Regions from separate parts of the Homo sapiens genome. Here all the other regions are linked to region 4. The links are contacts of gene promoters, found by promoter capture Hi-C in blood cells and fetal thymus (Javierre and others, 2016). All regions are on one chromosome and are shown on one strand. Each heading gives the region's core, a stretch centred on a gene start or on the middle of the fragment in contact. The rest is flanking DNA. Distances are from core to core; before and after follow the strand shown.

The links. The method cuts DNA at HindIII sites, captures the fragments that hold promoters and counts their contacts. A CHiCAGO score of 5 or more calls a contact.
Region 1: a contact is called between the fragment with the promoter of TCOF1 here and the fragment with the promoter of MRPL22 in region 4, in 2 of 17 cell types (fetal thymus and naive CD4 T cells). The highest score is 10.8, in fetal thymus.
Region 2: a contact is called between a fragment that was not itself captured here and the fragment with the promoter of MRPL22 in region 4, in 4 of 17 cell types (non-activated CD4 T cells, activated CD4 T cells, naive CD8 T cells and 1 more). The highest score is 12.3, in non-activated CD4 T cells.
Region 3: a contact is called between a fragment that was not itself captured here and the fragment with the promoter of MRPL22 in region 4, in 1 of 17 cell types (M0 macrophages). The highest score is 5.6, in M0 macrophages.
Region 5: a fragment that was not itself captured here is called in contact with the fragment with the promoter of MRPL22 in region 4 in 6 of 17 cell types (naive B cells, non-activated CD4 T cells, fetal thymus and 3 more); the score reaches 9.9 in naive B cells.

The regions. Positions count from the first base shown.
Region 1 is chr5:150,353,801-150,360,110 of GRCh38, reverse strand. TCOF1 (treacle ribosome biogenesis factor 1) reads right to left here and starts at 2,414. Exons shown (of 27, transcript NM_001371623.1): 1 at 2,257-2,414. The coding sequence starts at 2,364. It overlaps LOC105378226 (a long non-coding RNA gene), which reads left to right and starts at 2,691. Exons shown (of 4, transcript XR_944407.3): 1 at 2,691-3,605; 2 at 4,441-4,543; 3 at 4,948-5,136; 4 at 5,831-6,310. RefSeq lists silencers at 1,987-2,206, 2,287-2,626 and an enhancer at 3,227-3,396. The HindIII fragment of the contact is 5,465 bases long and covers 1-5,079 here.
Region 2 is chr5:159,199,965-159,205,653 of GRCh38, reverse strand. It overlaps RNF145 (ring finger protein 145), which reads left to right. Exons shown (of 11, transcript NM_001199383.2): 2 at 1,998-2,220. The coding sequence starts at 2,037. Among named protein-coding and RNA genes, the nearest start is that of RNF145, 6.7 kb to the left of the region's middle. The HindIII fragment of the contact is 2,049 bases long and covers 527-2,575 here.
Region 3 is chr5:151,800,589-151,806,210 of GRCh38, reverse strand. G3BP1 (G3BP stress granule assembly factor 1) reads right to left here. Exons shown (of 12, transcript NM_005754.3): 11 at 5,342-5,451; 12 at 1-2,326. The coding sequence ends at 2,120. Among named protein-coding and RNA genes, the nearest start is that of G3BP1, 31 kb to the right of the region's middle. The HindIII fragment of the contact is 1,052 bases long and covers 3,735-4,786 here.
Region 4 is chr5:154,937,879-154,943,983 of GRCh38, reverse strand. It overlaps MRPL22 (mitochondrial ribosomal protein L22), which reads right to left and starts at 2,911. Exons shown (of 7, transcript NM_014180.4): 1 at 2,846-2,911; 2 at 2,719-2,767. The coding sequence starts at 2,873. GEMIN5 (gem nuclear organelle associated protein 5) reads left to right here and starts at 5,773. Exons shown (of 28, transcript NM_015465.5): 1 at 5,773-6,016. The coding sequence starts at 5,851. RefSeq lists enhancers at 2,812-2,971, 5,475-5,524, 5,915-6,094, 5,686-6,105. The HindIII fragment of the contact is 1,041 bases long and covers 2,196-3,236 here.
Region 5 is chr5:151,772,978-151,778,581 of GRCh38, reverse strand. All of the region lies in intron 1 of G3BP1 (G3BP stress granule assembly factor 1), which reads right to left. Among named protein-coding and RNA genes, the nearest start is that of G3BP1, 3.8 kb to the right of the region's middle. The HindIII fragment of the contact is 3,564 bases long and covers 533-4,096 here.

The sequences.
Region 1 (6,310 bases), core at 1,165-3,664, 4.6 Mb after region 4:
AGCCGGTAACACTAAGATTTCAAGAGTCAGTTTCCCTCTGCTCCACCTCAGGCAAAGTGTCCTCCTTGCTGTCCTCAAATGTGTCAGGCCACCCTGCCTCTAACGCGGCCTTGCTATTCTTCTTGTCTGGAATGTTCTCTCCCCTGTTAACTACACAGCTCACTCCCTCATTTCCTTCAGGTCTCTGCCCAAATGACACCTTCTCAATGAGACTTCCTTGACTACCCTACTTATAATCGAAGTCTGACATCCCTTATCCCCCTTGCCTGCCTTTTATAGCAAGCACCAACTATCATTGGATATACTATATCATTAACTTATTAAACTTTTTCTATTTGTCACCTGTCTGCTCCTACTAGAATGTGTGCTCCATGACGGCAGGATATTTTGCTCCAATGAAGATGGGTACTATCTCTTGCTCCCCTTATCTGTGAAGTACCATAGCTGCGGTAGGAAGAGCAAGTGAGGTTCAGAGAAACTGGGAAAAGCATACATAACGTCTTAGGGCCCATCACCCTTTAGTCCCTCCAGGAGGTTCTGAGAGCAAGCATTAGGAGCAGAGCCTACACCACAGGGCAAAGGGATCTGACTACTTAGGATACTGTCTCACCAGTTCAAAACTCTCCATTGGTTTACCACTGCTCTTCCAAGGAAGATCAAACTGCCCACCAGACCACTCCAGCCAGCCCCTGCCTCCATCTCCCCAGGGGCATCTGGCCCTTGTACTTCACACTTCAGCCACTATGGACGTTTTTTTTTTTTTTGAGATGGAGTCTCGCCTTGTCACCCAGGATGGAGTGCAGTGGCTCAGTCTCAGCTCAGTGCAACCTCTGCCTCCTGGGTTCAAGTGATTCTCCTGACTCAGCCTCCCGAGTAACTGGGACTACAGGTGCATGCCACCATGCATGGCTAATTTTTGCATTTTTAGTAGAGACAGGGTTTCACCATGTCGGTCAGGCTGGTTTTGAACTCCTGGCCTCAAGTGATCCGCCTGCCTCGGCCTCCCAAAGTGCTGGGATTACAGGCGTGAGCTACCGTACCTGGCCTGCTATGGACTTAAAAAAAATTTTTTTTTGAGACAGTGTCTTGCTCTGTTGCCCAGGCTGGAGTGCAGTGGCATGATCATGGCTCATACTGTATCCTCAAATTCCTGGGCTCAAGAGAGTGGACTTTCTCCAGGCCAGTGTGTACACAAGTTCCCTCCCACCACAAGGCATTTACACCTCAGCTATTCCTGACCAGGGCAATCTGCCATCCATCTCTCTTTTTTTTTTGAGGCAGAGTCTCGCTTTATCGCCCAGGCTGGAGTGCAGTGGCACGATCTTGACTCATTGCAACCTCTGCCTCCCGGGTTCAAGCAATTCTTGTGCCTCAGCCACATGAGTAGCCAGGATTACAGGCGTGCGCCAACATGCCCAGCTAATTTTTGTATTTTTAGTAGAAACGGTGTTTCACCATGTTGGCCAGGCTGGTCTCGAACTTCTGACCTCAGGTGATCCGCTAGTCTCGGCCTCCCTAAGTGCTGGGATTACAGGCGTGAGCTACCGTGCCCGGCCCATCCCTCTCATTCTTAACACTTATTGCGGTGCTAAGCATATAGTCACTTTTGTGATTCTTTGATTTGTCTACCTTACTAGAGTGTAAGCTCCAGGAGGGCTGAGAGATGGTGCTCACCATTCGAACACCAGGAAGCACCCTGAGTACCGGATTAACAGTTGAATTAATCAAGTAAGAAATGACTGTACCACGAGTTCGAGTACCAAAGCTGACCGTCTCAGTACAGACAATCGCTAAAGGCCTGAGTTCCAGCTCAACTAAGAGGCTGTAGGGTCCCTTTTCCAGGCGCTCCCCCGAGGGGCTGGTCGCAATCCACCCCCGAGACTCGCAGCAACCTCCTTGCCCCAGGGGGGGCCGCGCAGAGCCTAGCCACGTGGCGGGAGACTTAGGAAACTTAAAATACCCGCTACCAGGAAGGGCGTGGAGGTAAGGGAAGCGGGAATTACAAAGTTCGGCCCCTGCGAGCACACTTTCTGGCCCAACCCACTGCCCGGATGAGGAAAGTGAGGCCCAGGGGAACTGAAGTCGCAGTGGGAAGGCAGAGATTGCGGCTCCTCCGGTACCCCTGGCCGCGCCGTCGAGCACTGCGGGACCCGGCTCCGGGCGCCTGCCGGGTCGCCTGGGGACGGGGCGCGGGCCGCGGGCCGCTGATCTCCACATCTTGCACGCGGCCCTCGCACACGGCCCACGAACGCTTACCTGGCCGCTCTGCTCCTTCACTTCCCGCGCCGCACGCACATAGCCAGCCCGCAGCAGATGGTGGTAGATCAGGGGAAGTAGCTCCCGCCGCTTCCTGGCCTCGGCCATACCCGCGACCCCCGGCCGGCCGGCTACCTGCACGCCCCGCCTTAGTCCCCGCCCGCCACTTCCCTCGCGCCCTTAGACCTCGCGCGCCACACTTCCGGCTCCTCTTTCGCTCCGGCCGCGCGGCGCGCCGGGAAACGTAGTCCCCTCTCCGGGAGTGGCCGGCCCCGCCCCTCAAGGCGAAGGGGGCGGAGACTCGTGATCAACAATACCGCCCATTGGCGCGGAGCATGCGGGGCTAGACAGGGACCCGCCCCCGGGGCCGGCCGGGACTTGGACGACTCTCTTTTAATCCTTCCGGCTGGCTTCTTGAAGAGATTTATCTTCCTTGTTAATTCTCTGATGGCTGGGTCTGCGTTTTACTCATCTCTGAACTCCCTAATCTGGATCTTTCTCTAGATCCGAACTTTGTACTGCCATTACCTGCTCATTTATCCATTTCGCACGGTTTTTGGTGCCCATGAACCAGACACGAATTGCCAGTTTATTCATTGATTCATTCGCTAACTGAACAAATCTGTAATAAGCACCTAACTTGGGCTAGCACCCGGCTAGGCTAGGGGGATTCAAAAGATGCATAATACATGGCAGTTGCCCTCAAAGCTCACAGAGACGACTGTCCGTAACCAAGCAACTATAGTTCAATATCTTGTGTGCCTTGTCAGGGACAGATGCAGCCTATGGGCGCCCCAAGGAGGAGCACCGAACCCCAGAGAGATATCTAAGCTGAGGCATAAAGACACCCGAAATTGCTGGGTGCAAAGGAGAGGACTGGCAGAGGGCACTGCATGAGTCTAGGCATGAGAAAACACCCTGCTATTGCCTGGGAACCCTAAACCCAGAACCCCTAGTCTGCGCTGCTGGGCTGTCCAGGTGGGGTGGGGTGAGGTGGGGAAGAGGGAACAAATGAGGGCACATGAGGATGAAGAAGTAGACAAGGCCTACAACTCCCCCACCCCCAACAGAGTTTGGACTTTGCTCTGAGGGCATTAGATAGTCTCTGACTGGCTTTTCCGAGGAGGTTGACCCTGTTTTGTGTTTTTAAAAGATTGCTAAAACCAAAGCACATACCATTAATACTAAATGTGAGGCTGTTGTAGTTGTTGAGGGAAGGATGGCAGGGAAAAGGTGAGGTAGGCTGGAGAATGTTAGAGTGAGCTGTTCTTAACTTCACCGACCCATTGAGAATCTGAGGGCAGCATGTTTCTTACGGGCGCAGGAGTCCCTAACCCTAGGAGGTCCAGGTATGTGGTTATCTTTGTCTTGAACTTGAATGGAAAATGTTATGTGTCTGTACACATTCAACATTTCCCATTTTCTTGAGCAAATATTTATTGAGTACCTACCATTGGGGATGGAATAGTCTCTACTCCTATAGAGCTTACAGTCTAGTGATGGAATTGTCTCTACTCCAATAGAGCTTACAGTCTAACGGAGGAGACACATACTAAACTAATAGTCATACAATACAGTGTTACAAACAGCGGGTAAGTGCAGGAAGGAAAAGGATAGTGTTTTCTTATGTAATAATATAGTGTTTAAAAGCTGCACTGGAGTCACACTGCCTGGGTTCAAATTCTGGCTTTGCCTCATTAACTAGGTGACTTTGGGCAAGTCACTGTGACTCAGTTTCTTTATCTGTACAATGGAGATAATTATAATTTCTACCTCACTGGGTTGTCATAAGGAGTAAATGAATTCTCAGCAGAAATGCTTAGAGGAGCTCTGAACAATAGCGCTCTCTGTGTGCGTGTGTGCTATTATTGTGAAAGCATATAACAGGAAGGAGGGATCTATTTTTTTCTTGGGAGTTAGGGAAGGATTCCCTGAGAAATTAATGGTTATGAGGAAACCAGAACTGTGTGTAAGGGAGAGTCAGAGAGAAGAAACCTGAGCAGAGGGAAGAACCTGTGCAAAGGGCCTAGGGCAGAAGGTACAGCTGAGAGAATAGACACAAAAAGGCCTTTGTAGCATAGTCCGGAGGGAGAGCAGGGGGACTGGGGAGTGTAGAAGGTGGGCAGAGGGCAGACTCCATGTGAAGGATTGGCCACATCAGGGTTTTTTTTCCTCCATCCTAAGAGCCATTGGAAGCCACTGACGGTGTAAGCCCAAGAGGTACAGGATGAAATCTGAATTTTACTGTGACCTGTGTGCCTGCCCAGTGGAGAGTGGAGTGTGTCTGGTGGGTATGAGTAGATGTGGGAAGACAAGTCAGGGTTAGGAGTGCAGGCAGGCATCCAGGGAGAAGACAGTGTATGTGGGGGGGGGGGGCGGGTGGTAGGTGGCGGGGGCAGCGGGGAGGGTGCTGGTGGCAGTGGAGTTGAAGAGAGTGGAAGGTTCCCAGAGTTAATCAGGAACTAAAGTTTTCACAGAGGTGTGTTGGAATGGGAGGGGAAGGAAAAGGCAATGTCAGAATGGACCTTGAGGTTTCTGTGCAAACAAGTAGGCAGTATTTTTCACTGAGATAGAAAAAACTAGAAGAGGACTGAGACAGGGGGGTGGTTTGATTGAGGAGAGGAGGATGTGGACAGAGAGGTGAAAGTATATATTCTATGTTAGACATCTTGAGCTTGAAATGCCTTACAGTCACCACATGCAGATGTTGAGAAGGTTCTTGGAAACCTGGGTTTGGACGTGGCGTGGAGGTCTGGGCTAGAGATGAAGATGAGAAGTTGTCGATAGACAGATGATAATTGCGGCTGTGGATGAGGAGAAGCTTACCCAGGGAGAAGAATGTGGAGAGAGAAGAGAGATGGCCCAGGATGAAGTTTTGAGGTACATCTACAGATTAGGGCTGTGTACAAAAGGATCTGCCTGCAAAGGCTGATCAGGAGTGGCTGGACAGCTTGGAGAAAGCCCAGGAGAGTGGGCTTATGGAAGGAGGCCAAGGGAGACATTTTAGAAAGCTGGGAAGACTTGATGGAGGGAATGCTCTGAGAGGTCAGATAGGAGGAGGGTGCAGCCCTGGGCTTTGGTTTATGGACAGGCGTGGAGATTGTTGGGGACTTAGGGAGGGCTATTTATGTGTGGCATGATGGAGGGGGTCAGATGGCAGTGGTCTGATGAGTGCAGGAGGGATGAGGGAGGCAGTGGGTCTTTCGAGAAGTTTTTGTATAAAAAGGACGAGAAAGATAAAGTGCTAGGGCCAATATGTATGTTAGGGGAGGTGTGTTTCAAGGTAGAAGAAACCTGAGATTTGTTTAAAAGTGAATGGCAGATCCAGGAGAGAGAGGTTAACCAAGAGTGTAAGAAATAGGGGAGATAATCAGCGAGTAAAGTTCTCTCAAGCATGTGCGAGGGGCTGGGATCAGGCATGTGGGTTGGGGGGGTTCGTCTTGGGGAGGAGGAGGGATGAGTTCTCTAGAACCCAAAAGCAGGAACAAAGAGAGGATGGGTGCAGATGTAGATGTAGGTTTATAGTGGGATGTTAAGGGAGATTTCATTTTGAGCTTCTATTTTTTCTGCAAAGTGGGAGGCAAGGTCTTCTGCTGAGAGTGAAGAAGAGGTGGTGAGGAGTTTGAAAGAATGATCATTCAGAGTGTTGAGAAGCAACTTGCCCACAAAATCCCCAATTGCCTGACAGCCTTGGCTCCCCAGTTGAGGTTGGTGGTCCTTAGTGTATGTGTGTCTCGTCCTGTCCTGCTGAGTGAATTCCTCCATCAGGGCTCACCTACCCAGCTGCAGGCTGGGGAGATGTATGTACATAGTGGGATTTATCCAGGCCTAGGGCTTTGCCAGATGGGTGGGGAAAAAAGGGCACAGGAGTCTAAAGTATTGGCAAAGAGATGCTAAAATTCTGGGTCCTGGGATCTACACTGGGTAGCGAGGGAAGCAAGGCAGATGGATGTTTGCAGGGAGAGAGTGGAATCCTTCACGGGCCAGGCCTTATGAGGGACCCCTGAGATCAGAGAGGGCTGGGAGCTGGAACTGGTGGTGACACCCAGGTTTC
Region 2 (5,689 bases), core at 302-2,801, 4.3 Mb before region 4:
TGATTTTCAAATATGGTGGCTGGTGGTTTGTGAGAAGATCTATTCAATATTACTTTGAAATAAATTCCCAAGAGGGTATTGGGTTATCAGTTTGCTCACCAAAGTAAGTCTTTCCACTGTAATTCCTGAAGTTATCTAGATGGCTTATACACATTAAAATGCATTAAACTCTTTACCAACAATTTCTGTGAATGTTTTGGTGTATTTTTTCCTGGGATTAGAAAAAATAATAATATCATGGGCTTTGAGAAATTTAGATTCCTCAGTGGTTGGTTTGCAATAAATATTAAAGGTTAGAGATTTTATTTTTCAGTGCATTTTTCCTTCTTAGGACATGATATTTAGTTCTGATTTTCACAATAATATTTTTTCTTATGTAGGAAAATTATGAAAATGATCTTGTTCATGTGAAATAATCAGAATTGCAGTACTTATCTATAAAAATGTTAAATCTATATTATTGGCAGGCTATATATATAAAACATTTGGGTTATGGGAATGGTTGATATATGATTATTGAAAAGCTTTTATTGATAGTGTGCCAAGTTGGGTTGCCTTTAGCTTTTTGACTATCTGAACTAGGAAGCTATGAAAATTGGAGGGTAAGATGGAAATACTGACAAATATTTAACCATAGCATAGCAATCTGTCACTATAATTTTCTGCAGAAATAAATGTTTTCGTTTGTCCTGTAATGTCTGAAATTACTGCTAAAGCTGGAAATGTGTTTAGCTTTCTCAGCAAAATTCTTAAAAGGATATTGTCAGAGCCAACAATCCAGAATTATCTTTACTCTTTAAATTGTTCTTTACCCACTTTTGTTTGCTTTTTTTTTTTTTTTTTTTTTTTTGAGACGGAGTCTAGCTCAGTTGCCTAGGCTGGAGTGCAGTATTGTGATCTCTGCTCACTGCAACCTCTGCATCCCAGGTTCAAGCAATTCTTCTGCCCTAGCCTCCTGAGTAGCTGGGACTACAGGTGTGCACCACCATGCCCGGCTAATTTTTGTATTTTTAGTACAGACGGAGTTTCACCATATTGGCTAGGCTGGTCTCGAACTCGTGACCTCATGATCTGCCTGCTTCGGCTTCCCAAAGTGCTGGGATTACAGGCGTGTGCCACTGCGCCCGGCCTTGTTTGCCCTATTTTATATTTTTTTGGATTAATTTGAAGTTCTACCATATAAAGCAGTATGGCATTGAATTGTCCCTTTAAATAGTAAATTGTCCTGATAACTGCCTTTCATTTCCTCCTCCCCCTGCCCCCCCCCACTACTTATCATGGTCTGTGCAGAGACAGGGGCTGCAGACTCAATGCCTGGCGTCTTCCATGTGCCTGCTTATCTGTGTATCAAGGGAAGAATTTGATGAACACTTGAAGGCAGATTATGGGAATTTTAGACCATATTTAACTTTAAAGATTCAAGGAAATGATATTGTAAATAATGTTCCCTCTACCTGTATCTACATCATGAGTTCTCTGGATTGTAAATTTAGCACTTCAATTTTGATTGTAAGTGAATAAGGAAAAGCATAGAGTACAAGATGCTGCAAACTAAACGTGCAGTTATCAAGTTTTTATTGAATTGCTTAGGCTTTTTCATAGAGTAAATATTCAAAATTCACCCTCTTATGAGCTACATAAATCATAGTTTTATTGGAGTGAGTGAATTTTTCAAGTTAATTTTATACAAGTTACAGTAGTCTTACAGAGTGTTTTGTTCCTAGATTTGGAGTTAGTGGCCTTTTAAAAAATTAGTTTTGAGGCCAGAACATTTAATCAGAATTATAAGATTGGACAGAACTGAATGGGTCAATGTGAAAACACAATACAGAGGTTATTTTATGAATATCTAAAAATAGTAGTTGTGGCTGAGAAGTAGTATACGTTCTCACATAGTTTTGTACAGTGTGTGACAACCTATTAGATTCGTGAAAGGGTATCTAAAAGCGATTTGTGTTGACTTTTTATTTTTATATATTGTGTCTTCTGAATTTTAGGTCTTCTCCAAGAAAAAAAAAAAGAAAAAAAAAAACAACATGGCTGCAAAGGAGAAACTGGAGGCAGTGTTAAATGTGGCCCTGAGGGTGCCAAGCATCATGCTGTTGGATGTCCTGTACAGATGGGATGTCAGCTCCTTTTTCCAGCAGATCCAAAGAAGTAGCCTTAGTAATAACCCTCTTTTCCAGTATAAGTATTTGGCTCTTAATATGCATTATGTAGGTGAGTGTCTACATCACATTTTCTAATCTTCTAGTGAGCATTCTGATTTATGTCTTAGTATCTTTTTGAATTTGGGTAAAATGAAGTTCATTTTCATTAAGATGATAGTGATATAGTTATTGATGAGTGTTTATGAATCTTGATAGTTTTGTCTTATCATTGCACATGAATTATTAAGGCTACAAGAAAGTAAGCAGTATTGGATTTATTTTACTGGATAAAACTGGAAGGCAGAAGAAAACATTCTAGATTTTAATATGATGAAATATAAACAATGAGAAATACTTTTAGAGACATTTGGCCCCTTCTAATTTGTCCTTGTTTTGGGGTTTGGTAGTAATTCAGAAAGTAAGCTTTTTAAAATGCAACATTCTTTATTGTTCCCTGAGATAAACGAAAACATTAACATCAGCTGAAGATAAAGTGTTCAGTTAAATGAAATTTGGGAAATGATACTATAATACTTTGTTCCATAAAAAAAATCCTCCTGGAACTATAATTTTTTTTTTTTTTGCTTGAATCCCCTTTCAAGAAAAATGGAACTATCATTGATATGCTATGGGGTTAGTGGTAAAAATAATGATAAGAGATTGAAGAAATTAAAGTCAAGAAATACAAGCATGAAACAGATAAAATTTACCTAGAATAAAAATCATGATCCTTACTTTTTAGGTTTTGGTTTATTTGTAATGTATATAGCAATATATTTTATTAATGTTGTGATTGCAGAGTTCCAGACATGGTTTGAATGGTACTATAGTGGTTTTGCTAATATTTTATTATTAGAGTTGCCTGTCACAAAATATATCTTTTATAAAGTCATGAAGAGTTGTCCTGTCTCTCTGAGATTTATTTTTATCACTTTCTGGGTTCTAAAACTTAGCCCTGAGAACGTTCCCCTTACATCCCTAAGAGGTAAGCTGTTGTGGAAAGAAGTATGATGTAGTAGAAGAGATGGTGCACTAGAAACAAAACGTTTCGGTTCAGTAAACTCATCTTTTGTGGATAGCACTACCTTGGGAATGTCTCTGAAATGGGAAAGTTCCTTTATGTTGCAAAACACTGTAATTCTCAGCCTTTTATGAAAGGCTTTGTATGTTAGCCAATTTATGGAAAGTAATTCCCGTCAGTTGTAGAACAACTGGGTACTTGGCTTAGATTTTTAGATTAATCAGCAAAGTCATACATACTGTGGTTTTAAAAATGTGCTTATATATTGTTTCTGAATAGGTTGAAATATTTATTATAAAAACAGCTGCCTGATAACCAGGAATATTAATTTTAGAAATTGAATGTTTTCGAGTACAATTGAAGTTCATAATCTGGTTTATAATTTTATAAAGTTAGTTGAGCCATCTTAAATATGCTTACTCCATGCCAAAGTAGAGTAAGCTCAGTGGTTGCATGAACAGATATTTTCAGCTTGAACAATGTTTTGGTTGGAGTTACCTTTGTCAAAATATTACATAGTGTTTATGTAATGCTCCTGTTTACAGAATTTCACCCTCAAATACAAATCAAATTTCACCTTAATAAAATAATGTATCTACATTCAGAAATAAAAAAGCATAAAAAGTATTTAATGAAAAGTATCTCCCTCCCATCTCTGTTACTCATTCGCTGAGTTCTCACTCTGAACACCATGTAGCTTTTATTTCTTTCTGTATAATTCTAGAGATATTTTTATGTATATATAAGTAAATATAAAAAATGTATATTTCCCCCCTTTTTATACAGATGTTAGCATGGTATACATGGTTTTGAATCATGGTTTTTGTTTGTGATGTATGTGGAGCCATAACTACTGCTTTTAGATATTTATGAAATAGAGTTTTGTGCTCTTTTTCTTATGATGACAGTCTGCCGGATCTTAAAGACTCTCTTGAGTAGATATCGAGGCCTCATTTCTCCTCTTCCCGATTGCATTTTACGTTGGCATAGTATCTTCGTATGGATATACCATAATTTATTGAACTAATTACTCCATTGGTGGACATTTTAGATAGCCTACCTTCTGCTATTTTGTACAGCGTTGTGCTAAATAACTTTGTATAGCTATAATTTCAACAAGTACAAATATAACCTGGGGCTAAGTTACTAGAAGCGAAGTTGCTGGGTTAAAGAGTACAGTGGTCCGTCGGTGTATGCTGGAAGTTGGTTCCAGGATGCCCACGTATACCAAAATCTGCGCATACTCAGGTCCCTCAAGTGACCCTGTGGAACTATGTATGCAGAAGGTTGGCCCTCTGTATACGTGGGTTTTGCATGTTGCAAATACTGTATTCCATAAGAGTTTGGTTGTAAAAAATCTACATGTAAGTGGACCCTCACAGTTCCATCCTATGTTGTTCAAGGGTTAACTTATATATATTTGTAGTGTTGACAGATAGTACTTTCCATAGGGTTTTACTATTTTGTACCTCCAAAAACCGTGGTTGAGAGTTCCTACAATCCTATATTATCAAAACAGCCTGTTACCACAAATATTTTGGCTACTCCAATAGGTGGAAAAATTGATTTTTTTAACTCAATGTAGTTTTAGTTTGCATTTCTATTATGAATGAATTGAACATACACATACTTAAGAAAAACCTGTATTTTCTCTTCTGAGAGTTGTCAGTTTATATACCCTGCCCACTTTTCTGTGAGATTCTTTTTTTACCAATTTGTGGGAATTTGGTATACATTAGGGAAATTAATCCTTTGTGATAAGTTGAAAATAGTTTTTCCAGTTTCAACTCAGTGATTTTGCTTATGATTTTTTGACATTTAGAAGGTTTTTAAGCTTTAGTATTTTGAGTCAATTAGAAAAGCCTTCTTTATTCTTGAGTTTATAAAGAATTCTGTTGTATTTTATCTTACTATTTTTGTGGGTTTATTTTTACATTTAAATCTTTGCTTCATTTATCTGTATGAATAGTGTGTTATAGGTATAATTTTATTTTTTCTAGATAACCACACAGTCATCCTCACCTATTTAGTCCATTTTTTTCTCATTATATACTGAATTCTCACATATATTTTGTTTCATTTTTGAACTTCTCTTCCTTTAGTCTGTCTGCCTGTTTGTGAACTATTAACACGCTGTCTTATTTGTTGAGGGTTTAGATTATATTTTACTGTCTAACAGGGTTAGTCCCTTCAGTTTTCTTTATTTCCTCCTCTGAGCTTTTTTTTTATGGTTAGTTTTCTATGTGAATTTAAGAATTGTCTCAAAATTGTCTAGGTCTCATTCCAAAAACAAAGCAACCCATTTGATTTTTTTTAAAATTTAGATTGCATTATTACTAATTTTGGGGGCAGGTGGGGAGGATGGGTTCTTGCTGTGTTGCCCAGGCTGGCCTGGAACTCCTGGGCTCAAGTGATCCTCCTGCCGCAGCCTCCTGACATTTATTGTTTCTAGGTATTTTATCTTTTTTATTGCTATCGTAAGTGGGAGTTTTTCCCCCTTTATGTCTTCTAATTGTAA
Region 3 (5,622 bases), core at 3,011-5,510, 3.1 Mb after region 4:
TCATTCCAGTTTTCCTAATCCCACAGCTCCACCCACCCACAGGAATAGGGACTATCAGTGTTCTCAATGGGGTTGCTTCATTTTTACACAACATTTGGTATCCTTAGACCCCACCCAATAAATGCCAGATGCATGTCTCTCCAACAACCCTTCCAAATTTCACACATTTCCAAATGTCCTCTAGTATGTGATAACACCAAGCTGAGGATTGCTGCATCTAGTTAATGCCCTTAAGTCTCCAAGTAGGAAGAACTTCTGTTTTGAAATGTATAATTTAGTATTCACTCATGAAGGATAATTTCTAGGCTATCCATAATTTATGACCTTGAAGTTACCACAAAGTAATTTTTTTTTCCAAAGTGACTCAGACTAAACTTTTCTTTCCACCCACCACATGCTTAATATAAGCTACAAAAGTATAAGTTGTATTTCTTCCTATTATCAGTGATCTGGGCCAAAAGTGGTTACCAAAGTTACTTTAACCCTACAAAAAAGCCATGTGATTCAGTTACATTAAGTTTATGTAAAGGAGATGCTGCCAATTTTCAAATATTTGAGGAACTGGAACCAAACTGGTAATACCAACTTCACTGTGGTCTTAACCATCACAGCAAACCTAGAGTTTCTCAGTAATGCAAACCAAATATTCCTATGCTATCCTCAAACGACAGTCCTAAAGATGAATACTGTTAAGAAAATAAATACGCTGAATTTTACAACCTGGTTGCCCTTCAATTAGTAATGACAATCACACAAAAGTTTGTTTCACACGTGTAAACAAAACCTTCACCCATCTCACACACAGCACTCAACAAATAACACATATGTGAAACGAGTATTAGTCTATATTGCCAGATTAAATTTTCTTCCAGAAATATTTTAATAAAAATTGGCCATTTCCAAGTAACACCCACTGCATGCCCATCAATAAAAGAGAACCATAACAAAATAGAAAATTTACCATATGGCTATGATTTTAAGAAAAAAAAAAATGCGGACACGAGCACATGAGCAAAGTCCAATATTAAAGTAACATTCCTTCTTACGGGCTATGATTAGGAATCTGATTAGATACCAGAATAAAAATACAAATGCTGAACTATTTAGGTCAAAGAACCTCTATAGAAGCATCTGTCTTCAAAGGCATTCCAGTTTGAGACTCAATTTTAGAATAAGGCATAACAAATATGTTAACAAAAGACATACACAAAGTGATGAAAGAGGGATTCTATAATTCCCCACATACTCTGAACCTAATAAAACAAATCTAGATTTTTTTTTTAAACAATTGCCAAGACTGAAATCAAAGATAAATAGAAGGCACAACAGTTTTGCTCTGGTTGTTATCTGGGTTTTGGGAATTTTTTTGCTTTTTGTTTTTTTACAAATACAAATTAAACATGAAAAAACTACTTCAAAAAAACTAACAGTTCAAGAAAAGCCTATCAGTTGCATTCTAGACATTTAAAACCTATTATCACAATTTAAATTTCAATGGTAAAAACAGTTAGGTTTTAGAATTGTTTTGTGATCCTTTATCAAAAAAAAATTCTATTCCTTTTATTCAGTTTTTAAACATACCAGTGAGAATCAAAATTGTCAAATTTTCCAATGGCAATTTCTCCACACCAGAAGGTAGTCATGACTCTCAAAGAAGAAACAATTTGGGTTTTTCCTGCCTTCAAAATATTATCAAATCCTGTATTTCTTACAGGCTTTTCAAACACGTAGAAAATAAGAAATATTCCAATGAATGAAACATACCAAATGTCAGTAATATGCAAGACATTCCTTTGGGGAAATGGCTGTAAAAAAAAAAAAAAAATCCAGTCTGTATATGCAAAGTAAGCAAGGAAATTCAGTCTTTTTTTTTGCTTCTTTAAAAGTCCGTTATTCCTAAAATATCATTCCACAAAATTGGAAGTGAAAGACTAAAGGTCAGGAAAGGGAAGAGAGGGAGAGGGAGCACACACCATTAACACACAAAAAAAGTAAAATTATACAAACTTAAGCAGTTTATAACAGACTGGGGTCATACTCCAAGATACCAAAGGCTGTCGAAAATTCACCATTCTGTTGGAACCAGGGTTTGTATGGCTGCATGAAGATCCATGAAGATTCACTGCCGTGGCGCAAGCCCCCTTCCCACTCCAAATCCTGGTTTCTGCACCATGCCTCCACGGGGAGGGCCTCTCATTCCACCACCCAGCCCACCTCGAGGGCCTCCAGGTCCCCGAAGGCGATTATCTCGTCGGTCGCCTTCCCTGGCAGCTCGAGTCTTCTTCTCTTCGACATTCAGACGGACCTCACCTCTGAACATGATGGGCTGTAAGAATCAAGGTGACCAGACTTAAGAGTACTGATGAGCTGGCTATCACTATCAAAGATAAAGAAAGCTGTAATAATGAACCAGCAGAGGCTGGGCACGGTGACTCATGCCTGTAATCCCAGCACTTTGGGAGGCCGAGACGGGTGGATTACGAGGTCAGGAGTTCAAGACCAGCCTGACCAACATGGTGAAACCCCGTCTCTACTAAAAAAACACAAAAATTAGCCAGACATGGTGACACACGCCTGTAGTTCCAGCTATTCAAGGAGGCTGAGGCAGGAGAATTGCTTGAACCCAGGAGGCGGAGGTTGCAGTGAGCCAAGATCACGCCATTGTACTCCAGTCTGGGAAAAAGAGCGAGACTCCGACTCAGAAAAAAAAAAGAACCAGCAGATTATAAATCAGCTAAGTTCTCACAGTTCAGTTTTTTGTTTGTTTTTTTAATGAGACAGAGTTTCACTCGTCACCCAGACTGGAGTGCAACTTGAACCCGGGTGGCGGAAGTTGTGGTGAGCCAAGGTCGTGCCACTGCACTCCAGCATGGGCGACAGAGTGAGACTCCGTCCCAATAAAAAATAAAAAATAAAAAAAATTGCCACCTTCTCCATAGATTTGGAGGCTTAGAATAAAACCTCATCATCACCAGTGTGAAAAGATGGTACTGTACATATTTATGCAAAGTACATATACATTTAAAATAAAAACTTCATTAATTTGACATAAACTTTAATTTGCTCTTTAACACCTCCTGAGAATTTTGGATAGTCTTGGCCTTCGTTTCCTCCTAACAGAGCCAAAGTAGTTAAGGGGCTACGAAACATTTCAATATATTCAATTTATGCTCTTCACCAGCAATGTAATTTTCTAATTTCTTAAAATGAGTATCTAAGAGTACTTACTATGTGTCGCGGAAGTGTTCTATTCAAATTTATTTATTTATTTATTTTTTGAGATGGAGTCTCGCTCTGCTGCCCAGGCTGGAGTGCAGTGGCGCGATCTCGGCTCACTGCAAGCTCCGCCTCCCAGATTCACGCCATTCTCCTGCCTCAGTCTCCCGAGTAGCTGGGACTACAGGCGTCCGCCACCACACCCAGCTAATTTTTTGTATTTTTAGTAGAGACGGGGTTTCACCGTGTTAGCCAGGATGGTCTCAATCTCCTGACCTCGTGATCCGCCCGCCTCGGCCTCCCAAAGTGCTGGGATTACAGGCGTGAGCCACTGTGCCCAGCTCTATTCAAATTTATTAGCTCACTTAACCTTTACAACAACCCTCTGATGGTAGATACCTACTTTAAGGACTAGCAAACTAAGGGCCGGGGAGGTTAAGTAACTTGTCCCATGGGTCACAACACTAATGAGTGATGAAAGGAGAATACAAACCAAGGCCTCCAGGGAAAAATAAGCTTTGAAACGGTAAGCTACACTACAGTATGTCATACACCACGGCAATCAGTCTTACATAAGCTATTTCTGCTCACACAAAAAATTAGTGAAGGGAGCATAGTAGACTTCTATCAATACCATGAAATGAAGGGTGGCCACTAGGCCTAATACATGCTGAATGATGGATTTATCTACAAAGCCTACTGGACATTTCTGGGTTCTTCAGTGGCTTTGGTGAGATAAACCACTGTTCTCTCATTTCTCAAACAGTATTTTGCAGGAGATGCTTCACAAAAATAAATGGTCAAATAATTTGAAAGATAATGTATATTTGCATACTCAGGTTGACATGTTATAACCACAACATTAAACTATGCAGTAAGGCCAGGTGCATTGGCTCGCACCTATAATCCCAGCACTTTGGGAGGCCAAGGTCAGCGGATCACCTGAGGTCAGGAGTTCGAGATCAGCCTGGTTAACATGGGGAAGCCCCATGTCTACTAAAAATACAAAAAAATCAGCTGGGCATGGTGGCGGGTGCCTGTAATCCCAGCTACTCAGGAAGTTGAGGCAGGAGAACTGCTTGAACCCAGGATGTGGAGGTTGCAGTGAGCCAAGATCACACCATTGCACTCCAGCCTGGGTGGCAGAGAGAGACACTGTCTCAAAAAAAAAAAAATAAAAAAATAAAAAACTTTGCAGTATGCCCATTAACATTCTGGAGAATATCACTGATCTGCAGTATTTTTATTATATGGTTTAAAGTACACAATTTTAATTCATAGGGACAGAAAGCAGATTAGTGGCTGCCAGGGGTTGGGAGACAGGTACAAGGAATGACTGCTTAGTGAGTAAAGAGCTTATGGCTTTTAGTAAAAAACTTTTGGAATTAAAGGTAATGGTTGCACAATAATGTGTTCTAAATGCAATTAAGTTGTACATTTTTAAATGGTTAATTTTGTTATGTAAATTTCACCTCAATAAAAAAGTATAGCTTAGTAAATTAATATTATTTATACACTTGTTCTTCTCTACTACTACAAAAAGTAGTTTTTTGCTAGAGGAAGGGAAGCTTTCTTTGGGGATCCCACAGTAAGATTTCCATTCTACAAATTCTTCTATTATTAGAACGTACAGAGTAAGAGTACTGTTAGTAAGGATGGTTCCAAGTAGGTTGACTATATAATTTATCTTCCAAATCCAATTTATTAACTTAAAGAAGAAGCTCTTAATAGTTATTCTCTAAAAACAGCAGTATACCAAAACTGTCCTGGGCAAACTGGCTCTTATCTTAGTTAATAGTTAGAAGTAGGTTTGTATTTCATCTCCTGTATACCAAAAGCCACCACCAAGGAAAGGTAGTTACGTAAATCTCAGTGCACTGATAACTATTCATTTTCTCATTCTCATAATTCATGTTTTCAAAAACTAAGTTACTTAAACATAAGGTTTGTTTTCCTAAACCCCCAGGCAAGTCTTTTAATAATGGTTGAAAATAATGAATAAATTACCTGAACATGTTGGAATAAACTGCACTTTACATAAAGACCCAGCTGTAAAGATATATTCTAAAGAACCAAAACCCTTTTTAAAAAAAAAAAAAAAAAATCAAGACAAAAAGCTGCTTACCCTGTTGCTAAGGACTTTCTGAACAGGCTCAGAATCATCAAACACAACAAAACCAAAATTGGGTAATTTCCCACCACTGTTAATGCGCAACTCCACCACGTTTCCATAACCTGCAAGTGAAACACATTCTCAGATAACTACTTAGACCATTATCTTTAAACATTACATGTACACAGTCCAATACAGTAGCCACTAGATGCATGTGACTACTGAGCACTTGAATTATAAATATAGCTAGTCTGAATTGAGATGTGCCTCTCATAAGTGTAAAATTATGGGAG
Region 4 (6,105 bases), core at 1,662-4,161:
CAAAAACTGAAAACTGTCAGTCAGCTAACAAATATAGCCTACAGAGTAATCCCAGCACTTTGGGAGACTGAGGTGGGAGATTACTTAAGCCCAGGAGTTTCAGACCAGCCGGGCAATATAACAGGACTTTGTCTCTACTAAAACTCAAAAAAAAGTCAGGTGTAGTAGTGCACGCCTGTGATCCCAGCTGCTTGGGAGGCTGAGTTGGGAAGATGGCTTGAATCGAGGCTGCAGTGAGCTATGATCATGATACCGCACTCCAGCCTGGGTGACACAGCAAAACGCTGTCTTTAAAAAAAAAAAAATTTTAATATCTATATATATATGTGTGTGTATATACATGTATGTATGTGTATATATGTATATATATGTGTATATATGTATATATGTGCATATATGTGTGTATATATATATATATCCTGCAGAAATGTTTTATTTGGTCAGCAGCAGTTTTCTTAACCTAATTCAATGTTTTTAGATGAGGAATACACTCTACTGACCACCACAGGCCCTCCCACTCTCATTTTACATAGACAACTTCCCTTAGTTTATTTATTTCTAGTCTGGGGCCTATATGCAATTAAGTTTCCTGGCGGCTCATGCCTGTAATCCCTCCAGGCCAAGGCAGGAGGATCACTTGAGCCCAGGAGTTAGAGACCAGCCTGAGCAACACAGCAAGACCCTAAAAATTAGCCAGGTGTGATGGCATGCACCTGTAGTTCTAGCTACTTAGGAAGCTGAGGTGGGAGCCCGGGAGTTTGAGGCTGCAGTGAGCTATGATCACAGCACTGCACTTCAGCCTAGGCACAGAGCGAGACCGTGTCTCCAAAAAAAAAAGGAAAAAAAAGTTTCTCATCACTGAATCAGATTATATGCTAAAATTTTACATGGTTATCATGAACATTATTTATACCTTTCTACTTAGTTTTCTTATGGTCATTTTCCCCACTAGAAAATCCAAAATAAGGATTCACAAAATTATGTAATAACTTCAGAATTGCAAATAGCCTTAGAGATTATCTAGCAAAATCAAACACTCTTGTATCATGACATAGAGGAAAAGACTAAAGGCAAACTGCTTAAGTTTCTTGCTCAGAGCTTCTTAATACAAGTTGGTGCAAGACAATTCAAATCAACATCAAAATACTTGCCTGTGTAAGACCTTATGCTGGAGGTACAACAATAAATAAATGTCCCTACTTCTCCAAGATACACAAGCTAGTAAAGGGCACATACACATATACATGAAGTCATCATAGAAGGCACACATGCTAAAAGGAAGGAAAAACTAATTTCTTTCCGTTTTAGAGAAACCAGTGAAAACTTCCTGAAGGGAAAACATCTGAACAGAGGTTTGAATAATGGGTAGGACTGCTGTTATAGACAAGATGTGAGGGCATAGTAGGAAAAGCCAAGAAGCAAGTAAGTGCAAAGTATATTCAGAAAAAGTAAGTAAATCAGCATGGTTGGGGGAAGAGTGATAGAAGATTATCTAAGAAGAGTACAGACAAATCCTAAGAGCTACTACTTCCTATTTTCTTCTTTAGCCCACCTCTTTATCCCCCTCGGACCCAAAAACTTAGAAAAGGGTTAAATATAATTGGGAACTCAGTAATAATTTATAATAATAAAAACATTAATGGCAACTAGAATTCAGAGTGGGATTATCACATGCCATAAACATACTAAATACTTCATATGCATTATCTTGTTTGAATTTCCTTTTTAAAATCTACTAGAGCTACATAGATGGCATGTGCCTGTAATCCCAGTACTTCAGGAGGCTGAGGCAAGAGAATTGTTTCAGCCCTTAAGTTTGAGACCAGCATGGGCAACATAGCAACACTTCATCTAAAAAAATAAATAAATAAAAATTAAAAAATTTTTTAAATCCTAAGAGATAGGTACTAACATAACGCTCATATCATAAAAGTGATAACTGAAGCTTATTAAGAATAAGTAACTTTTCCAAGATCACAGTTAAAAAATGGATTCATATACAACTCATCTGTCTGCAAAGCCTATGAACTAAACCAAAATCAATGCTAACAAATGGACAGACCAGAAAATTTACAATCAGATTATCAATTTTCAAATACCGATTTTTTATTTTGGGGAGAAATACAGCGACTACTTACCCTAACCTTTAATGAATGCTTTTGTCCTAAGGCTACAGAATGCTCTGGTATAAAGCTTCAAAATTTCCTACAACTGAGTGGCCTTAGGCAAGTTATTTTACGTTTGGGGACTTCAATTTCCTTGTCTGAAAAACGGGTATAGCAGAACCTACTCGTAGAATGTTATGAGAGTGAGTTAAAGCATATAAACCGCTAAACACAATGTCAGGTACGACGTAAAGCAGAGTTGTCCACAACACGGTCCCTGCCCATGTAAGCAAGTAATCAGAGAGGTAACTTGAAAAGTTGGACGCTTCCATATGGAGATGGAATAGTCTAACCTTGTCCAGAAAGATCACAGTAGACGTTCGGAAATCGCATTTACAATCGCCCTTGGGTTATGGGTAATCCTGATCCCTGTACAGTTTATGCAATAAGGTGGAGAAAAAATAGAGTGACAAAGCAGAGACTCGGGCTGTCTCATTCGCCTCAGTAACCCCAGAGCCTAAAACACAGTTAGGCACGGAGGCGCTCAGTTACCAACTGGCAGAATACTAAAGATGCCTTGGGCCCTTCCGAAACTCCGAAGCGAGAGACTCACCCCAAGGCCAGCTTCCCCCGGCTCCTCAGGTTATGTATCCATAACGCACCTGCAACATCAACACAAGCCGTCAACTCAGATTCCATCTCGACTCCCTTCTGTCGCTTAACCACTAAGAAATCCTTACCCAACTGTCCCAGTACTGCCGCCGCCATCTTTCGCCCTCCCGCTACGGAAGCCGCCGAGTTCAAGCGCCTTCTGGACAGCACGCATGCGCAATACTCTGGATTTCCTGTGGGGCTCTCCCACAAGCAGTACTTACACCCCAGGTGCCGTCACGAAGATCGCAAGCACTGGGCCGGCGCTCGAGGTGTGGTCAGGCGAACCTGGCTTGGGAATGAATTAATTAATAAAGGCCGAAAGCACGTGGGCTTCCGAAAATTCACCTGGATTCAGAAAAACTAAAGTCCCAACTCACAAACTAGAAAGGAGTAGGGGAACAGAATCCGTGAACAAGCCACCTAATCCGGTGGTCCTCAGTTTTCTTATCAGAAATGACTAACCTTAGGGCACAAGCTTGTTGTAAAGATCAGTTGAAATAGTGTGAAAGCTATTTTATTTCATTTTATTGAAACAGGGTCTCTCTCTCGCTTAGGCTGGAGTGTGGTAGCAATGACCTAGTCTCACTGCAGCCTCGACCCCGGGCTCAAGCCACCCTCTTACCTCAGCCTCCCAAGTAGCTGTGACTACAGGCGCACATCACCACGCCCGGCTAATTTTTGTATTTTTTATAGATAAGGAGTTTCCCCAAATTGCCCAGGCTGATCTCGAATTCCTGGGCTCAAGCAATCTGCCCTCCTCGGCCTCCCAAAGTGCTAGGATTAGAGGTATGAGCCACGAAACCTAGCCTAAAATCTCTTTTAAAGAGCAAATAGTTCAAATATGATGTATGCTGTCCTAATCCCTACTAATCTGGTTGACCTTCAAGAATGAGTTTATATTCATCTGGCATTTACTGCCTTATGTCAGGCAGGTATTTCACTAAATCTCATTTATTCCTCACAGCAATCCAACAAGGCATGGATTATCATTTTCCTTCTTCAAATGAGGAAACATATTTAGGATATGTTAAAGTCTCTCAACTAACAACTGGCAAACCAGTGATCAATCTACGACTAGGTGCCTCCAAATTTGTGCCCCTAGACGCCTTCAAATATATGTATTTGACCCCTCTGTATTAGAATAACAGGTAGTTCAGATTGCGGTTTGCTACCTATGCAGGAATGTCAGATACCCAATGCAAACAAGCAACACACGAGTAGTGCAGAATCTGAGCATTTTAGCATTTTTGAGTTGAAAGGAAACTTTCTTCCACACCATTTACCACATACAGCTTCCTTCACACAGCTGGCCCTCAATCAAGCAAATCAAGAGTCACTCCATTTGCTTCTCCTTCATCTTTGAGTACCCAGAACCCAGAGCCAGAATTTCCACCCAGTTGCAGAAACTGTTCTTTCCCTTTTTAATTCCAGATTCGTACTTTCATATTTTTGTTTGTTTTGTTTTTTTGAGACAGGGTCTCACTCTATTGCCCAGGCTTGAGTGCAGTGGCTCGATCACAGCTCACACCAGCCTGTCTCCCGGACTCCATATTGTAATGCCCAACCTTGTTTTTACTAACCCTGTTTTTAGACTCTCCCTTTTTCCTCTGATCACCTAGCCTTGTTTCCACTTGAATTGACTCTTGCTTAGCTAAGAGAGCCAGACAGACTCCATCTTGGCTCTTTCACTGGCAGCCCCTTCCTCAAGAACTTAACTTGTGCAAGCTGACTCCCAGCACATCCAAGATGCAATTAACTGATAAGATACTGTGGCGAGCAATATCCGCAATTCCCAGGAATTCGTCTGATTGATAGCACCCAAAGCCCCCAGTCTATCACCTTGTAATAAATAGTCTTAAAGCCCCTGCACCTGGAACTGTTTACTTTCCTGTAACCATTTATCCTTTTAACTTTTTGCCTACTTTATTTCTGTAAAATTGTTTTAACTAGACTCCCCTCCCCTTTCTAAACCAAAGTATAAAAGAAAATCTAGCCTCTTCTTCCGGCTGAGAGAACTTTGAGCGTTAGCCATCTCTTGGCCACCGGCTAAACAAATGGACTCTTAATTCGTCTCAAAGTGTGGCGTTTTCTCTAACTCACTCAGGTACAACAATATTTTTGTTAAGTGGCCTCTTGTGCATATCTTTTTTTGTTTTGTTTTGTTTTTATTTGAGATGGAGTCTCGCAATGTCGCCCAGGCTGGAGTGCAGTGGCGCAATCTCTGCTCACTGCAACTTCCGCCTCCCAGGTTCAAGCGATTCTCCTGCCTCAGCCTCCCTAGTATTTGTTGTCTAGGGATTGTTGCATTTTACTTTTTTTTTTTTTTTGAGATGGAGTCTCGCTGTGTGGCCAGGCTAGAGTGCAGTGGCGTGATCTCCGCTCACAGCAACTTCCGCCTCCCGGGTTCAAGCGATTCTCCTGCCTCAGCCTCCCGAGCAGCTGGGATTACAGGCGCCTGCCACCACACCCGGCTTATTTTATTATTTTATTTTATTTTTGTTTTTTAATAGAGACGAGGTTTCACTATGCTGACCAGGCCGGTCTTTTAACTCCTGACCTCGTGATCCTCCCGCCTCGGCCTCCCAAAGTGCTGGGATTACAGGCGTGAGCCACCGCACCCGGCCTCTTGTGCATATCTTTAAAACACCTCCACAACTAGCAAAGTGCCCTGGCACATAGCGCTCAAAAAACGTTGGACGGGATAGTGGTTGAACAGCTCCAAATAATAAACTGGTAGCCTGGGGCGGTGGTTCCACTAGTCTAATCCTCTAATTTTGTGCCTTTCTGTGGGAAGTGAGAATGCTTAACCTCGGGGCTGTGCTCAGGCAGCACCTGACCCTAGCCAGGGTTGGGGCGGACCTCCTACCGCGGGCTAGGTACTGAGGGCCAGTGCAGCACGCGTGGTCCCGCCCTTCCCAGCCCGGCGGTAGCGGGAACGCAACGCGCGGTGCTGGCTGGGCCTCGACGCGCACCGTAGCGACTGCCCGAGAAGGCGGGGCTCGGAGTTCACCCCGCCCCGCTCCCTACCTAAGGCGTGAGGCTACGAGCGGTCGGCTGTGGCAGCTTCTCTTGTCTCTGACGGCTTGTAGTTATGGGGCAGGAGCCGCGGACGCTGCCGCCCTCCCCCAACTGGTACTGCGCCCGCTGCAGCGATGCCGTGCCCGGGGGCCTCTTTGGCTTCGCCGCGCGGACCTCCGTCTTCCTTGTCCGCGTGGGCCCGGGCGCAGGCGAGAGTCCAGGGACACCCCCGTTTCGAGGTAACTCACCACCCTTGGGCCCGAGACTTACTGCCCTTTGTACGCTCCCCAGGGGCGCCGAGTGGACGACTCCACCCCGTTTTCTACAG
Region 5 (5,604 bases), core at 1,065-3,564, 3.2 Mb after region 4:
TAATCCCAGCTACTCAGGAGGCTGAGACAGGAGAATCACCTAAACCCAGGAGGCAGAGGTTGTAGTGAGCAGAGATGGCGCCACTGCACTCCAGCCCGGGCAACAAGAGCGAAACACTGTCTCAAAACAAAAAAATTAATAATTAAGTAACCAATCCCATAAAATATGAGCAAAAGACTTAAAGATATTTCGCCAAAGAAATTATATGAATGCCAAATGAAAAATGCTGATCACTAGCAATTACAGAAATGCAAATTAAAACCTGTGAGGTACCACTAAACACCTGTCACAATGACTAAAATTAAAAAGACTGACCATACACACTGTTAGCCAACATACTGGCAGAACTGGAACCCCCCAAACATCGCTGGTGGCAATGTAAAATGGTACAACCACTGTGGAAAACAGGGAGTTTCTTTAAAAGTTAGGCATACATCTACTACATGATCTAAACATTCCCCTATTAAGCATTTACCCAAGAGAAATAAAGGCGTATACCCATACAAAGACTTGTACACAAAGTTCAGAAGCTTTATTTGTAACAGTCAAAAAGCTGGAAACACACAGCTTCTGCCGTTTTTCAATGCCCACCAACAGGTAAACCAAAAAATTGTGATATGCCTACACAACAGACTAGCACTGAGCAATTAAAAAAAGAACATAATGTATTTACAAAAAAATTCTAAAAAACGCAAAGTAATCTACAGTGATAAAAAGATCAAGGATTTCCTGCAGGGAGAAGGGTGGAAGGAACAAGCAAGAAAGAGGGAAAAGGGACATGAGAAAACTTTTGGGGGTAATGGATAGGTTCACAATCTTGATTGTGGTGATGGTTTCATGGGTATACCTTCTTTTAAGAGTCTCCTGTGTCGCCCAGGCTGGAGTGCAGTAGCATGACCATAGGTCACTGCAGCCTCAAACATCTGGGCTCAAGTAATCCTCTCTGCTGCCTCAGTCTTTTGAGAAGCTGGGATTACAAAAGGTGTCTGAAATTATCAGGCAGTACATTTTAAAAACATGCAGTTTATTGTCAATTATACCTCAATAAAGCTATTTTTAAAAATTCCCCATCAATAAAACAGCCTGGAAAGATGTGAAAAAGATCCCTGGAAGGAAGGGAATGGAAGCCCGTATAGAAAAAAAGGAGTCTTAGAGGGCAATGCAAAATGTCAAATGTTAATTCTGAGTACGATAGTATTTAAGTGGTCTTTTTACTTTAAAAAAGTTGTCAAAAACACCAAGGAAAAACAGCAAGTGTTTGTGTGTACTAACTTGAGAATATATTAAATTTTTGTAAATTTTGTTTCAGGATTATGTCATGTATTCAAACATTTGATATCTGGTTCTCTAAATCGTGGGAATTTAGAAACAAAATCTTTTCCCAGAACTGGAGTAACATGAATACAGAAGCCAACATCTGTGCTCAGAGCAAGAAAAGTATCAACATCACTGGGCCTACTGTCAATCTATTTTTCCAAACTCTTCGCATTTACCACCTGTCACCTCCCTTCACAATTCTTCCTGACGCCTCCTTGGAGAAATGGTTGATTCTGGACCTGAGACAGGCAAAATGCAAGATGAGCCTGAAATACCTGGTAATTAATGAAAGAAAAAACATGCTTTTAAAAAACAGATAAGATAGGGAAGTGTCAAAAGGACAAAGGAGCCAAAAAAAAAAAAAAAAGCTGGAACAACATGAACAACAAAATAAACTGTGGCCAGCACAGTGGCTCACACCTGTAATCCCAGCACTTTGAGAGGCCAAGACAAGAGGATTGCTTGAGCCCAGGAGTGTGAGACAGCCTGGACGATATTTTATAAAAATATAAAATAAATAATAATCAAAAATAAGTAAACATCAGCAAGGATAATTGTGGATTACAACCCAAAGAATAAAATTAATATCCGTGGTCTATAGTGATATAAATGAAAAAAAGAAAAAACATGAAGAATACACAAATCTTCCTCACAGAAAATTTATACTGTAGAAGGAATGAGGAAAATAAAAAAAATCACCATTAGAACCCCGAAGTAATAATAGCTGCAGACGAGATCCATTAAAATGCTAAAATTAAGGAGGGGAACTTTATTTCCATGGCTTCGAAGCATCTCCCCCAAAATAATAACAGTAGCTTTAATATACTTCCACAAATTCACATTCTCCTCCCTCTAGAAAGTAGAGCCTAATTCCCCTCTCTCCTTGAGTGTGAGCTGGACTTGGTGACTAGCATCTAAGGAATAGTATCTAAAGGGGAAAAAAACACTAACCTGACAGATACCACCTGAACCAAATCATCAGGTTAAATTCAACCAGTTATATATTATGGACCCCCAATCTGATGTGATAAGGGTAATTTCTGTGGTATTCTTCCCCCAAAAATCTGTAACTTCAGTCTAATCCTTAACATCAAATCCAAATGAGATCAAGTGTCATGGTCACGAAAGACAAAAGGAAAGACAGAAACTGACACAGATCAGGAGACTACATACAATGTGGCATCTTGGACTGGATCCTAGAACAGAAAAAGGACATTAGTAGAAAAACTAAGGAAATCCAAATAAAGTCTTTCATTAACAGTATTTTATCGATGTTAATTTCTCAGTTCTGTTAAATGTACTTGGATTACATAAGATGTTAACAGTGGATAATGGGTATTCAAGACCTCTCTATTGCAACTCTTCCACAAATCTTACTTTATCTCAAAAATACTGTTTTCCTGAAAGAAAAAAAACTTCAGGAATCAGAATACTTAACAACTATCTTTTATCTTAGTGTATCCCTTCCCCACTCCAAAGTTAAAACCTACTCAGGTTCACAATTTAAAAAAATCTTTGTTCTTTCTCATCACGTGAAAAGATATGTTACAGTTAATACTAATGCTCATCCGCAAAATTCTTAAACAGATCAAGACAGGTGGATACACTCCAGGGAAATCTAGGCAACCTCAGTGCAGAAACAAGGGTGTACTTAAGGCACAGCCTATGGCTTTGCATAAACAGCATATGGGAGAAGCCTGCAAGGGCAGGCAGGTGTCACATTCATACATTCCAGATTCAAAATCCCTCTAAGATTTTTCAATTAAGGAAATAAGCTGGCTATAGTACCCTATTAGGTACCACATGCTTTTCAAAATAGTTTTGACAATTCGGTTTCAGAGCTCCAATTCACTTTTTAGTAAAAGTATGGTAATACCAAAGATGTGTGAAAGCACTCTCTAAATATGCAAAAGGTTACACAAATACATAATGATGCTTTATATAGCCAGTGAAGTTAATAGCCACCAAAGATTACATCCCTACTAAGTAGATGTGTATACCATCCAGGAAGCCAAATTTCTGTCAATCATCTTTAATCTTTACTTTTGATTAAGTACCTAAGATACAACACACATACCAAGAACTTATTACATGACAGACTGGCCACCTGACAGAAGAGGGACTCTATCACAAAGTCGCCTAAAGACCTTATTTACTAAGCTACAGGCTGTGAGGGCAATTTTTTTGAAATTGCTTTCCACCTTGTAAGACAGAATATTAAGACACTATTCGTGTGTGTGAATTATTCCTACTCTTAACCCTATCACCTGGCTTGCAACTTGACCTTCCCAACTAAAGACAGACAGGATGTCCAAGAATACTTTTTTAAAAAAAGTAAATAGCTGATTTCTGAGATATAAAATTATAAACCTAGTGTGCCACCACATTGTGATCACCAACTACATGTAAGATAATAGTTGCTGAATCTAAATTCAACTCCAGGGCTTGTACTGGAGTACTGGAAGGGCAGTACTGCACTACCAGAGATTTTTCCCACTTGCTTTTGACAAATTACTGGGGGGCGGGCGAGGCTTTCCTTTTTTTTTTTGACCTACCTACTTCCACAATTATCCATTCTTCTTTGTAAAGTCAGTAATAGTTTCGTCCAAGGAAGCCAAAGCACAATATAATTAAACAAACATACAATGCCTATTTAAATTCTGAAAGTTAAAAAAAAAATCAATTTGCAAAATGTTAAAAGACCAAGTGGGCAGTTTTATCAGACTGACAAAAATAAAGAAAAAAAATATAAAATTGGCTTTAGTCACAAATGTAAGCTTTATGTTAAATTTTATCTTTTAACACTAGCCCCATCAGTCCTAAGGACGATATAAAATTCACAAACTTTTACAAAAACTTAAAACTGCCTTCTGCCGTTCACTTTCTATGCAAAATACTAGAACGAGTGGGAAAAAAAAAAACCATAAGTTACAAAAGAAAAACTGCTCTAAGTAGGTCACAAACAAACATTACCAAAATCTCCTAATGTTCCCCTGGTGCAGTGTCAGCTCAGGAACAGCAAACTGAGTTAAACAAAGAACTGTCTACTTTTCTACCTGTAAGAGGTACAAAAGCTTAGACTTTTGTACCGGTAAGCAGCTCCAACAAAACTGACGTATGACTTGGTAGGGATGTAGGGCAGCCTTGCCAAGCCTTACATTACCACAATTTGCTTCAATTCACTTGTTCCTGATAAATGCACAAGTAATCAGTTAGAGCACCAGTTTGTGAAATAATCACGTAATTTTCATGTTCCTGCCCAAGTGATAACCATTTGCCTGAGGCCAAGAACTGTATTTTTTTAATATTTTAAGTAGAAACTAACGAAATTTTCCCTCAATAATGTGTAAGGTAATTTCATTCTATTTTGCCTCAAGCAGTAATAAAATTAGCTGGACTCAAGCTTAAACAGTTTAAATGTAGGTCATTCTAGTGTTTTTCCATTTGACAACTTAAATTGCTCAACTTTAAGTCTAAGTTAAAATGCTAATTCCATAGTTAACCAGTCTGTAAGGGCAAGTAACCGGAATCGCCACACCAGCAAAGTTCCAAGTAAATGTTACTTGGAACATTATTATAATACTGTTATAGAAACATGTTTATAGAAAGGGTTTCCAGAACACGATTATAGAAATCTTTATGTTTATAGAAGTGTTTCTATAACATAGAAGATTTATTTCACTAAGCCAAGGAGTATGTTGGCTTTTAAATAATCTAAAAGATGGTAACTACTAGAAAAATATAAGCTCCAGTCCCTGAAGAAAAGCATCTTGTTTCTGCATATACACAAGAACCCAGCAGAGTAAATGCTAAATAAACGGAGTGTACACAAACTTTCATCCACAGATCTCGACTGTCACAGTTGTTTTTTCCAACACATCTCCAACACCAGTAATTCATCCAGCATGACACGCTCCACAGAGGTCCAAATAGTATACTGTAACTGGGCGCCAACCTTTCTATTCCAATTCCGTATTTTAACCCACAGATGCTAGTGAGATCTTAAATTCGTCGCTTTGCACCTCATTCCCTTCAACTATAAAGTGAATCTTCTCAAGGTCTTTCTGCAAAAGTCTCCTCCAATTAAAAAAAAAGTAGAGAAAAAAAAATTCAACGTCTAAAACCGGAGCCTAACTTCCCGCTGGCGGGAATTTCCCATCAGCAATCTGAGATTCAAACCCGATGAGGAACACAGTCCATGTTCATTTGCACTTACTCATCGTTTTCCCTACTTTTTTCCAGAAGCTACGGTGGCGGCACATCTACCCAGGGCCTGTACAAGTACAC